Regions from separate parts of the Homo sapiens genome. Here regions 1, 2 and 3 are each linked to region 4. The links are contacts of gene promoters, found by promoter capture Hi-C in human tissues and cell types (Jung and others, 2019). All regions are on one chromosome and are shown on one strand. The core of a region is centred on a gene start or on the middle of the fragment in contact, and the rest is flanking DNA. Distances in the headings are between cores, read along the strand shown.

Region 1 (2,911 bases), core at 394-2,893, 320 kb before region 4:
TTGTCAGGAAAATCTACATTCTGTACAGAATCTCCTTCCCTTTCCAGGTCTCTCCTGATCCAGGAGAGATGAACTAAGAGTCTGATCTACATTCTGTACAGAATTTCCTTCCCTTTCCAGGCCTCTTCCTGATCCAGGAGAGATGAACTAAGGGTCTGGCACCTTTTTAGGTTTGACAGACACTTACCATCTCCTGTCTCTGAAACTCGCTTCCTGGGACTTCAGCTACATAGTAAGAACCATGGTCTCCATACCCCTTATCCTAGACACTCCTTTCTACTGATTCCAGGTCTTTAGATAATAACTTAACTCGTTCAACCAATTGCCAGTCAGAAAATCTTTGAATCCACCTATGACCAGGAAGCCACTCCTTGCCCTCACTTCAAGTTGTCCCATCTTTCCACACCAAACTAACATATTCCTTACACATGCATTGATGGAGGTCTGCCTGTAATTTTTTTTTTTTTTTTTTTTGAGACTAAGTCTCACTCTGTCGCCTGGGCTAGAGTGCAGTGGAGGGATCTCAGCTTACTGCAACCTCTGCCTCCCAGGTTCAAGCAATTCTCCTGCCTCAGCCTCCTGAGTAGCTGGGACTACAGGCATGCCCCACCATGCCCGGCTAATTTTTATATTTCTAGTAGAGACAGGTTTTCACCATGTTGGCCAGGCTGGTCTCGAACTCCTGACCTCAAGTGATCTGCCTGGGATCACAAGTGCTGGGATTACAGGTGTGAGCACCTGGCCTGCCTGTAACTTCTGTCCCCCTAAAATGTGTAACATCAAGCTGTAACCCAACTGTCTGGGGCACATATTTTCAGGATCTCTTGGGACTGTGCCTCAGGCCTTGGTCATTCAGATGGGTTCAGAATAAATCCCTTCAAATATTGTATAGAGTTGACTTGTCCACAAAAGGGAAGGAAACAGGGCATTCTGACATTCTGAGACAGGACGGGTAGTGAGGAGCCTCTCACAAACCATGGATATGTGTATATGTGTGCATGTTCTTGCACATACCAGCACATGCCTCCCCAAAGAGTCCCCTACTCCCAATTCCAAGGATGTCCACCTCTGCCTTGGCCCAAAGTTCTCACCTCTACCAGGCTCTCCCGCACCTGTGGTCTGAGACATCAGCTGGTGGGTTTGGCTTTGAGAATAAACCTGGGTCACTTGGCGGGCTTTTTTCTGTCTGCTTGCCAGGAAGCCTGCTGAATTCCTCTCCACCTCTGCCCTTGTCCACAGAGAGGGGCGGCCCATGCAGTTCACAGCTAAACTTAGCCTGGCAACGCTGGAGTCACGGGGCAACAGGGGCTGAGGGAAGATGGAAGCTTCTGGGTGGCCCGGACAGAGGGCTGCAGGTGGCTGGCTGGGACCAGTGGTTTATTCAGACCTTTACTGTGAGGCTGGCCGGAAGCCAAGACCCTGGGAGAAATCCAAGGCTTCCTTCCTTCACTGGGGTCCCTCACTCCTGGGTCCCCCAGAGCCTGCAGCACTCCCCACCATAGCTTAATCCAATAAACACCACAAAGCATTGCCTAACACCCATAGCTCTCCCATTTCTCGAGCCCTCACTAGGATGTGCTGGGCACTGCACACACTAACCACTGTAAGTTTCTTTTCTTTTCTTTTTTTTTTTTTTTTTTGACCACTGTAACTTTCTAAGAGGTGGGTGCCATCCCTGTTTTGCAGATGGGTTAACCAAAGTCCAAGAGGCTAAGTCATTTTCTAGCCACAGGACTAGAAAAGCCATAGCTGGGCTGAGATTCAAGCTCATTCTGTCTGTCTTTGCCAGCAAAGCTCAAGTTTTTCCACTGTGCTACATGTACGGAGCACATACTGAGCTCGAGGAACATGATGGATGCTTCAGGGCCTGCAGTGATGAGTATGGCCTGACCCCTGGTAGCAAAAGCATTACAATCCACGCGGGAAGGTAGACAGCCACTACGTATGGAGTCCCCAGACAGAATGAGATGTGGGGCATAAAAGGCACGTGAGCTACAGGCTGCAAAATGCAGAGGAGGGAGGGAGCTTCCTTCCTGTTCTCTGAAGGCCTCTCCCTGTCTGGAGCTCTCCCTGCCCTCACCTGTTGGGGAGATGTCAGTGTGCAACTCCTTGGCTCCACCTTCACCTCCTCCTCTCCTTCCAGACAGAATTACTACAACCAACCAGGAACAGTAGGAGCATGTGTCCGGCCCCACAACCTGTTCATCACACCGCTTTTGCCCCACTGCCCATCTACTCCCACTGAGGGTTGACTGACCACAGCCTTAAGCAGCAGGGGTGCCCAGGACCCATTTCTTGGCCACCTGGTATTCCCTCTGGGACAGTGGTTCTCAACGTGCTTAGCAGCAACAGTGCCACCTGGCAACTTGTTACAAATGCAAATTTTCACAGGCAACCTGAAACCCGCTGATCAGAAATGCCAGGGCTGGGCCCAGTATCTGTGTCTCAACAAGCCCTCTAGGTCATTCTAATGCCCGCTTATGTCTGAGAACCATCCCTTCCCAAACCAGGCGTCCTCTGGGTAGGAGGGTGGGGCTCCTGCAGTGTCACAGCAGCCCACATCCTGGAAATTGCCAAGGGCTTGCCCAGCACACAGCCTGACAGATGCAATTAGCTCTGCTAATTACAACAGCAAAAGAAGGCCTGGCCCTGGCGTCACGTTCAGAGCCAAAAGGAGTAGCTGATAGGTTTCCTTTACGAAATGGAATAAAGGACTGGCTGAGGGCAGGGGAGGGCACTTTTAGCCGAGGCCTTGGGGGTGACTTGGGTCCCTTTCACTAGGTTCTGGGTCCTCCAAGAAAGAAGGAGCCAAGGGAGGCCCAAACTGCCATGAGTTTGGGCTGAACTCCTTCTGTATCCTGGCCTTGTGCTGCAGTTTCTCAGCCCCAGCTGATGAGGTACACAGTTGTTG
Region 2 (2,905 bases), core at 121-2,620, 420 kb after region 4:
AGAAAACACTTCATGGACTCTGCAGTGTAATGGAAAGAGCATTGGAGTAGGAGACAGGACTTCTGGTTGCTAATTCTACTCCTGCCACTGGGCAGCCAGGCCTTGGGGCACTAGTAGGATTTCTCTGGCTTTCTGCATCCTCATCTGTAAAATTCAAAGGGGTGATGACCAAGGGAGAACCGGCAGTGAATACCTGAGGTGCTTGCTAAAAATGCAGACTCTAGATAGAAGGAATAAATGCAATGTTCAATAGAATAGAGTAGAATAACTATACTTAAAAAATATATTGTACTTGGGTGAGGGATGCCCTAAATATCCTCAGTCACTATGCATCATATACATGTAAAAATTATGTACCCCACAACTTTGCACAAATAAAAAGAAATTTTAAAAATGCCGATAGTTTCTTCGGCCCCACCTGGAAATCCCTGCTCTGGATCTCTGGACCTGGGCCTCAGGAATCTCCATCTGAACAAGCTCTCCTGGCAATGCCTTTGTACACTAGATTTTGAGAACCAGAGGAGGTAGTTAAGAGGTCATTTTGAAAACCAGGGAGACAAATTAGTGGAGTCCCAGGTGTTCCCCTTTGAGTAGTACAAACTGGTTCCCCCTTATCAAAAACCCCCTCTTTTCTCCACCGTGCTTGAAATACACAGTGGAAAGGGTTGTTCCAACCAATGAAGACATTGGCACCTCCAGGCATCTTTTCAAAATACATACACTCCCTGCTAGATGAGATAATATACTTCCGTGTGCTTTGCAGGCTGCAAAGAATCTTTAAAATGCTTCATAACTGTAAAATGCTATATTGTTTTAGACTTTATTAAAATAATGCCTGTAGTTTTTATTAACATTATGACATGAATGAGGTTACTGATTTTATCTATGCCTGTTTAGATGTACTTAGGAATTCCATTGAAAAGACACTTTTGAGTCCCTACTCTTTGAACAGTGTATACATAGAAAGGGATATGAAGGACGGTAGGTAGGGGTTGTTCCAATTTCTGACTCTCTCTAAGGTAATAAATTATGCATTCAAGCCCATTGCCATGGGACTCTCAGTGTTTTTCCACTGTATGCAGTGAGAATTTCCCCAATCCCTTGGCTTGGGATCATCCATGTGACTTGCTTTGGCTGAGTTTAGCAAATGTGACACAAGCGGAAGCTCTGTCATTGCACTGTAGCTGTGGCCCCTCACCCCAGGCCCCATCACGAACCCACAGAGCAACCTGAGCCTTCCCCTCTATGGGATGCCAAGCTCTGCTGGATTCATAGCATGAAGCAGAGCCTCGCATTGAGCCCAGCCTAGAAAAGCTGATCCCAGCTGGCCTTAGATGTACCAGCAAAATACATAACTGTTGGTTTAAGCTGCTGAATGTTGAGGTAGTTTATTATGCAGCAAAAGCTAAGCTGATACAGTAGGACAAAGACAAGTTGAGACAACTGGACAAATGGCTGATACAAAGGATTGTTAGGTACCAGGAGACAGATACAGCCTGTGATAGAGGTGTCAGAGGAGTGGCATCAGTAATGTGTTCATGGAGGAGTTGGAATTTGAGGGGGGTTTGAAAGATGGTTTCAATTTCAACAGGCAAGCTTGTGTGCGTGCTTGTGGATCCTCTGGCATGGTGGGTAATGGCGGACATTTCAGTCACAGGAAGGAGAAAGAAGAGAAACAGAAAAGCATGAGGTGTGTTTAGGAAATTGTTAGTAGGTCAGTCTGTCAAGAAGTTCGGATTCTATGCTTGGAGAGAGAGAGATTGGCCGATAAGCCTAGAAAAGAAGATTAAAGTGATAACTTAGAGGCTTTAAATGCCAGGCTAAAGATTTTGCAGTTAATACAGTGCACCTTTAAAGGGTTCCACTCAGGGGCAGAGCATGCTCAGGACTGGTCTTTAGGAAGCTCATTTTTACAGCAGGGTGAAGGGCAAATTACACAAGGAAGAGCTGGGGACGAGGTGGCCAATTAAAAGGCTATTCATTACTGGGGGCAGTGAGTCCTGGAAAGAGAAGATGGAAATCCAGGGAATTCTAGAAGATGTGGTTTGCAATTTAAAAAAGTTAAAAAGTCTGGGCGCGGTGGCTCAAACCTGTAATCCTAGCACTTTGGGATGCTGAGGCAGGCGGATCACCTAGGTCAGGAGTTCAAGACCAGCCTGACCAACATGGAGAAACCCCGTCTCTATTAAAAATATAAAATTAGCTGGGCATGGTGGCACATGCCTATAATCCCAGCTACTCGGGAGCCTGAGACAGGAGAATCCCTTCAACCCGGGAGGCGGAGGTTGTGGTGAGCTGAGATCACGCCATTGCACTCCAGCCTGGCCAACAAGAGTGAAACTCCGTCTTAAAACAAAAAAAAAAAACAAACAAAAAAGTTAAAAACAATTTAAGTATAGAAAATAAATTCAAATTCGTTTGCAGTCTTAAAATGTTTCCTGTAATGTGTAACATCTAGAAACTAGAGTTCTACTTGGAAACAAATTCACAAGTTATGGTGGCCACCAATTTATAGACTTTACAAATAATTTTTTAAACAAGGGCTCAAATTCAGCATAATATTTACACATTTGTTGGAAAGCTGTGCTCTGGACTTAGGTATCATTTCTCCCAGGGTAAGAAAGCACTGAAGAAAGTTCTCTGAGTAGTTTTGTGTTTGTTTTGTGGGGGTGAGGTAGGGTGGGAGAGATGTTTTAAGTGGTGTTCCTTTTTTTTTTTTTTTTTGAGGTGGAGTCTCGCTCTGTCACCCAGGCTGGAGTGCAGTGGTGCAATCTTGGCTCACTACAAGCTCCGCCTCCCAGGTTCATGCCATTCTTCTGCCTCAGCCTCCCAAGTAGCTGAGACTACAGGCGCCTGCCACCACACCTGGCTAATTTTTTGTATTTCTTAGTAGAGACAGGGTTTC
Region 3 (2,700 bases), core at 58-2,557, 270 kb after region 4:
TATATTTAGTATTATGTCTTAGAGACTTTTCAGGTCAATAACTCTGGTATCTGTCTTACTCTTGAATGCTGCTGTATAGTACTGTGTGTGTGTGTGTGTGTGTGTGTGTAATACACTCTATTTAGCCTTTCCCTGATAATTGTTATTCAGTTATGTTCATATCAACAGAGATGCAGTGAATTATGGGCTGTCATACCTTCTCATGGGCCTGTTTGTGCACTTTCTTTTCCCTGGAGGGCTTCTTTCCTTCCCTTACGTGCATGATACAAATAGGTCTTTTGCCTGATAGGTTAGAGTTTTTGGCATTTTAAAACCTAAATATAACAACTCACCATCCTATTTTCTGAACTGAAGGTCTTCAGTGAGAACTAATGTGTTCACACCAAATAAAGAAAGGAAAAGAAAGAAACTGAAGATCTGAATATTGGCCCAACCCCATATACTTCAGCCTCTGTCCTACCTGAGACGTGTGCTGGGAAGCTGCTGCTGGTGGGTCTACAACTTATCTGATCCGAACCATGAATTCTGCATGACTGGTCTCCAAAGACAGCAAACCTCCAATTTTCCGCATTTAGAACCGGTGATGGCTCTCATTCAAATAGTGGGGGCAGGAGGAAATAGAGACGAATTAATTATCCTGTATCATTGTGCCTCTCTTTGTGAGACTAAACAATGCAGCCATGAGTTGGGTAAAAAGAGGTCAGGGAGAGCTGTGTAAGCTTCTGCACTGGCATCAACCTTCCTGTGGAGTTTCTGAAGCAGAGGGTGGGGCAATACCCACTTGGAGAATGAAGCTGTTTAAATGACTTACTTTTGGCTTGAGGTCTGAAATTAGTTATCTGGATGGTTATTTGTGGTCAGGCTGGGCTTCTGCCATTGCAAAGATACAGATTAATGTGACTTTGGGCACTGGCCCTAAAATGAGGAGTGGAATAGGCCAGAGGGAAACATTAATGCTTTTCCATCACAACTCTCTGAGAAGTCTTTGGTCTGGAGCTGTGCTGTGGGAACTCCTGACGCTGACCTTGGAATGGGCTGTGGTTCACCACACACCAGAGCACCTAATAGCCTATGGTCTTTGATTGTTGACAATCCTCAGTGTATCTCAGTGGAGTACACCTGAAGGAGCTGCTAGTGGGTGCTCCCCAAGGCCTGGCACTTGGAAGCATAGTTGTATCTTTTGATTCTCCAGGCAACTGGGTCTTATCATACACTTATGGTGACAATTGGAAACAGTGTCCACAGATCCTTTAATGATTTATTGGGTATCCGTGTGCCTCACCCCTATTAAGTGTAAGTAGTGCAAATCAAGAAAAAGAAAACAAGGTGATTTCCCTTGAGGACAATACAATCAGGGGTATTCATAAAAATGACAGCCATAAGCATTTATGGAACAAGGGCTTTTAGCAGATGCTAAGCTAGGTATCTTATTACTCTTCATTGAATCTGAATAACAACAACTCTATTGTCTGAGCTGAGGTTCAGAGACATGAAAAGCTTGCACAGCTAGATCTGGCTCTGAGTCTAGTTGTCTTTGTACTACTCCAGTCTGCTTGTTTTCTTTATGTAGAACTGTGCTCTGCACTTTCAGAAATTAAAAAAAAAATTCATTTGTGACTGTTCTTTTGAGAAGCTTTTAGCAATTGCTGAAAATATCAAAAGCACACATGTATATTCAGAGAATAAATAGGGAGCTCTTAGGTGCAATTGGTGTAAATGCAGAGGAGGGCGTGGGTGGGAATTATAGGAAAGATCTTTGTAGTACAATGAGTACTGGAGCTGGGAGTAAAAAAGGAGACAATCTGAACATTGGAGGCAATGGTAAAGCAAAGCAGGTAAACTACGAAGGCCTTGAATGCCAGACAGAGGCAGATGTTTGACCTGATGTGGCAGCCAGGCAGGGAAGGATGCTCTAGGGTATCAGAGATCCAGGCAGAAATCTTGAGAAGTTGTCTTAGAGACAAAAGCAGGGTGAGAACATGACTCGGGGGTGGGACAGAGGTGGAGGCTGATATTCTCTACCTCTAGCTGATACCAGCTAGAGCAGCACCACCAAATCATACCCCTCCTGCTTTTGCAAAAGCACCCTTTCATTTTGCTATTGTGCTTGGCTTGTTTGGAGCTGCAAAAGGTCAGAGTTGAGTAGTTGTGGCGGAGGTCCACAAAACCCAAAATATTTACTATCTGGTTGTTTTACAGGAAAAAAAAGTTTGCCAACCTGAGCTAGAGCTACTTTAAATGGCCGGAAAGGGGAAGCAAAGCACAGTGTGCCTAGCCCATGTCAGATGCCGTGGTTGATAAATATATGCAAAGGAATGAGCCAAACATGGCAACGCAGAAGTTGCTGAGAGGAAAGGAACAACCACAACTGTGGTTGTTTGCCAATTTTAGATTGTTTGCCAGTTTTAGATTGTATCCCTCAGAAGGCAGGCCACTGAGGAGATGACTTCTGACTGGTGAAAGATGCCAGGGTTAATGATCCTTAATTTTGCAGAGCTCAGGGGCAAGAAGAGGAGAAGAAATGAGGAGAGGACTGAGGACCAGGGTGGTAAACACCAGAAGAAGGTGCTGACTGGATAAGGAAAGCCATGTGCTCACCCAGATTGAGAACATCAGATGGCCCCGTGAGAGCTGGCAGAGTGTCTATCTCTGGCCAGAATGGGGCATTAGGACAGGGAGGTTGAGCTGCAGTTCAGCTCT
Region 4 (2,800 bases), core at 73-2,572:
GAGTGAGGGCACGACCTCAAAATCCTAGGCAGCAAAATGAGGTCTGGATCCTCCCTGGAAGAACAGACATCTCGACTACTCTCTCGCCCCACCTCTGGCCGGGAGGTCGGGGCAAGGAGAATCCCTCAACCGAGAAGATCTGGCAAGTCCCCGATCCCACCGGGGCCTTCCGCCTCTTTTCCCTCATCCCCTAGGAGGCTTTATCAGGTTCTAACCGCTTGTAGTGGGGGCCGTGGGTGCTCGGGGCGCCAAGAGGAGGGGGCTGCCGAGAGCGGCCTGCCTAGTTCTCAGCATTGCCTCTTTGACCACTCGCAGGCTCCTGGAAATGCAAACACAGCCCGTGCGTGATCCGCACGCGACCAAAAGCCGAGCGCACACCTCCCGCCCCCGCCCCACTTGCCATCGCTCACACTAACGTGCACACATGCTCGTGCAAACGCGCACGCACGGAACCGCGCGCCCCCTCACACCCAGCCGCGCTCCCGGCCCGGCTCAGCCAGGTGCCCCCACGCGGCAGCGCCCGGTCTGCCCGCCGGCCCCCTGCGAACCCCTCGCCTCACGCCCGCCTGCCTGCGCGCACGCACGCGCACGCACGCATTCCCCACGCCCCCGCGCGGGGGCGCAGGCCTTGGGTGGCGGGGTTTGGCCGGGAGCCGGCCGGGCCAGGGAGCGGCGAGCAGAGTCCAGGGTGCATCCCGCGCTTGGCTTCCGTGCGCAGCCTCCCCGCGCGGAGGCACCTGGCTCCCTCTCGGCTCTAGAACGCGAACAGTTGGCGTTGAGCACACAACTCCTCCTCCTTCTCCCCCGAGACCCCTGTACCCTCCCCGCGCGCCATCTCCCGCCCCTCATAACAGGCCCGAAGAGTAAACCCCCAAACGCGTCCAGAAGCGGCTCCCAACTCTTCGCCGGGAGCACGTTGGAGGCTGGATTTCGGAGAGACTCGGGATTGGGGTCTATTGCCGGCCCCTCCTGGATCCGGCTTGATTTTCATATTTTAAGAAGATTTTCTTATTACCTTTGATTACTCCTTTTTACCAAATTTCTGGAGGAGCTCAGTGGGGAGGATTGGGGGGAATCTGATTTTAAGAAAGAAAGCACCGAAGGGGCAATTATTAATTTTCCTCGGGTTTGGAATCACCCTCTGGACAAGAGAACGGGCGAGCGGGAGCTAGGAGGGAAGAGTGGAGAGGACCGGCGAGGCGCGCCAGCCGGAGCCACCTCCTTCCCGGCCGCCCCCTCCCCACTCCCCCTACACACACACGCTCGCTCGCTCGCCGGCGCGCGCACACCCCCCGCGCCGGACCCGCACCTCGGCGGGCGCCACACACTCGGCAGCCCGAGCCGCGGTAGCCGCAGCGGGATGGAGGCGGCGCGCACGGAGCGCCCCGCAGGCAGGCCGGGGGCGCCGCTTGTCCGGACGGGGCTCCTACTCTTGTCGACGTGGGTCCTGGCCGGCGCCGAGATCACTTGGGACGCGACAGGCGGTCCCGGACGCCCGGCGGCCCCGGCTTCGCGGCCACCGGCGTTGTCTCCACTCTCGCCGCGGGCAGTGGCCAGCCAGTGGCCGGAGGAGCTGGCGTCGGCGCGGAGAGCCGCCGTGCTGGGGCGCCGGGCCGGACCAGAGCTGCTGCCCCAGCAGGGCGGCGGCAGAGGCGGTGAGATGCAGGTGGAAGCCGGAGGGACATCACCGGCAGGCGAGCGGCGGGGCCGGGGCATCCCAGCTCCTGCCAAGCTTGGCGGCGCGAGGAGGAGTCGCCGGGCGCAGCCCCCAATCACCCAGGAACGCGGGGACGCCTGGGCCACTGCTCCGGCCGATGGTTCCAGAGGAAGCCGTCCCCTTGCTAAGGGTTCCCGGGAGGAGGTGAAGGCGCCGCGGGCTGGGGGGTCGGCGGCTGAAGACCTCCGGCTGCCCAGCACCTCCTTCGCGCTGACCGGGGACTCGGCCCACAACCAAGCCATGGTGCACTGGTCGGGACACAACAGCAGCGTGAGTACCCACCCGGCGGCGGGTCCGCCTGTTTCCTGACACCGAAGGGGAATGGGGGGGTGGGTGGGAGCGAGGGACAGATAGTTGCTCGGGGGTCGAGGCGGGGGACGCCTCGACTTTTCGAGATAACAGGTTTGTCCGATTCCCCCCACGCCCCCAACAGGTTAACGGAGTTTGTTGTTAGACGCTGTGTGTGTTTGTTTACTGGAGACCCTAGGCTTCGGCCGCCGGGAGGGGAGTGGAGGAAGGGGCTTCTTAAAGATGAGTGGGGGAGGGATCTGTGCTCACTTTCTCCAATACTTGGCTTGGAGGGTCAGTTTTCCTGTTTGCGGGGTGCTTGAATTCTTGGATGAGAAAAAGGGCTGACTTGGGGCGGGAGCCGCTGAACAGACCGATTCCTGCGGCTGCCGGGCTCCCCCTACCCCCACCCCACCCCCACCCCCCCTCCCGTCACGCGAAAGGGAACCCGGAAGGCCATTCGGACTCCCAGCCTCCTGCTCGCCTCGGGGTCGCTGCTATCCGCTCCAGGCGCGCAGTCCTCCAGCCCAAGAGGGAGGCTCGGCCAAGTCGGCCCCCAGCCTTGGCCTTCAGGTAACCCCGGTTCCTCCTTCAAAGTCCAGGGAGCGGCCCTGGAAAGCCGTAGCAGAGGCCGTAAAAAAAAGTTTAAAGCGTGAAGCGAAATTCCACACCCATCCAGCGCTCATGCCACACCGCTCGCCCTCACGCACGCACAGGCACACGGAAGTCGCTCAGCAGAAAACTCTCGACTTCACCATTGCGTCCTGCGCCACAAACGGCTCCCTGAGCGGAGTT

What was found. The method cuts DNA at HindIII sites, captures the fragments that hold promoters and counts their contacts. A contact is called where the count stands out against the background at its distance.
Region 1: a fragment that was not itself captured here is called in contact with the fragment with the promoter of SORCS3 in region 4 in 1 of the 25 tissues and cell types used here (mesendoderm cells).
Region 2: a contact is called between a fragment that was not itself captured here and the fragment with the promoter of SORCS3 in region 4, in 1 of the 25 tissues and cell types used here (lymphoblastoid cells).
Region 3: a fragment that was not itself captured here is called in contact with the fragment with the promoter of SORCS3 in region 4 in 1 of the 25 tissues and cell types used here (dorsolateral prefrontal cortex).

What each region holds. Positions count from the first base shown.
Region 1 is chr10:104,320,082-104,322,992 of GRCh38, forward strand. All of the region lies in intron 1 of ITPRIP (inositol 1,4,5-trisphosphate receptor interacting protein), which reads right to left. Among named protein-coding and RNA genes, the nearest start is that of ITPRIP-AS1, 1.8 kb to the right of the region's middle. The HindIII fragment of the contact is 8,518 bases long and covers 1-2,911 here.
Region 2 is chr10:105,058,589-105,061,493 of GRCh38, forward strand. All of the region lies in intron 5 of SORCS3 (sortilin related VPS10 domain containing receptor 3), which reads left to right. Among named protein-coding and RNA genes, the nearest start is that of SORCS3-AS1, 390 kb to the left of the region's middle. The HindIII fragment of the contact is 6,011 bases long and covers 1-2,905 here.
Region 3 is chr10:104,907,046-104,909,745 of GRCh38, forward strand. All of the region lies in intron 2 of SORCS3 (sortilin related VPS10 domain containing receptor 3), which reads left to right. Among named protein-coding and RNA genes, the nearest start is that of SORCS3-AS1, 240 kb to the left of the region's middle. The HindIII fragment of the contact is 5,097 bases long and covers 1-2,700 here.
Region 4 is chr10:104,639,968-104,642,767 of GRCh38, forward strand. SORCS3 (sortilin related VPS10 domain containing receptor 3) reads left to right here and starts at 1,323. Exons shown (of 27, transcript NM_014978.3): 1 at 1,323-1,987. The coding sequence starts at 1,361. The HindIII fragment of the contact is 5,425 bases long and covers 1-2,800 here.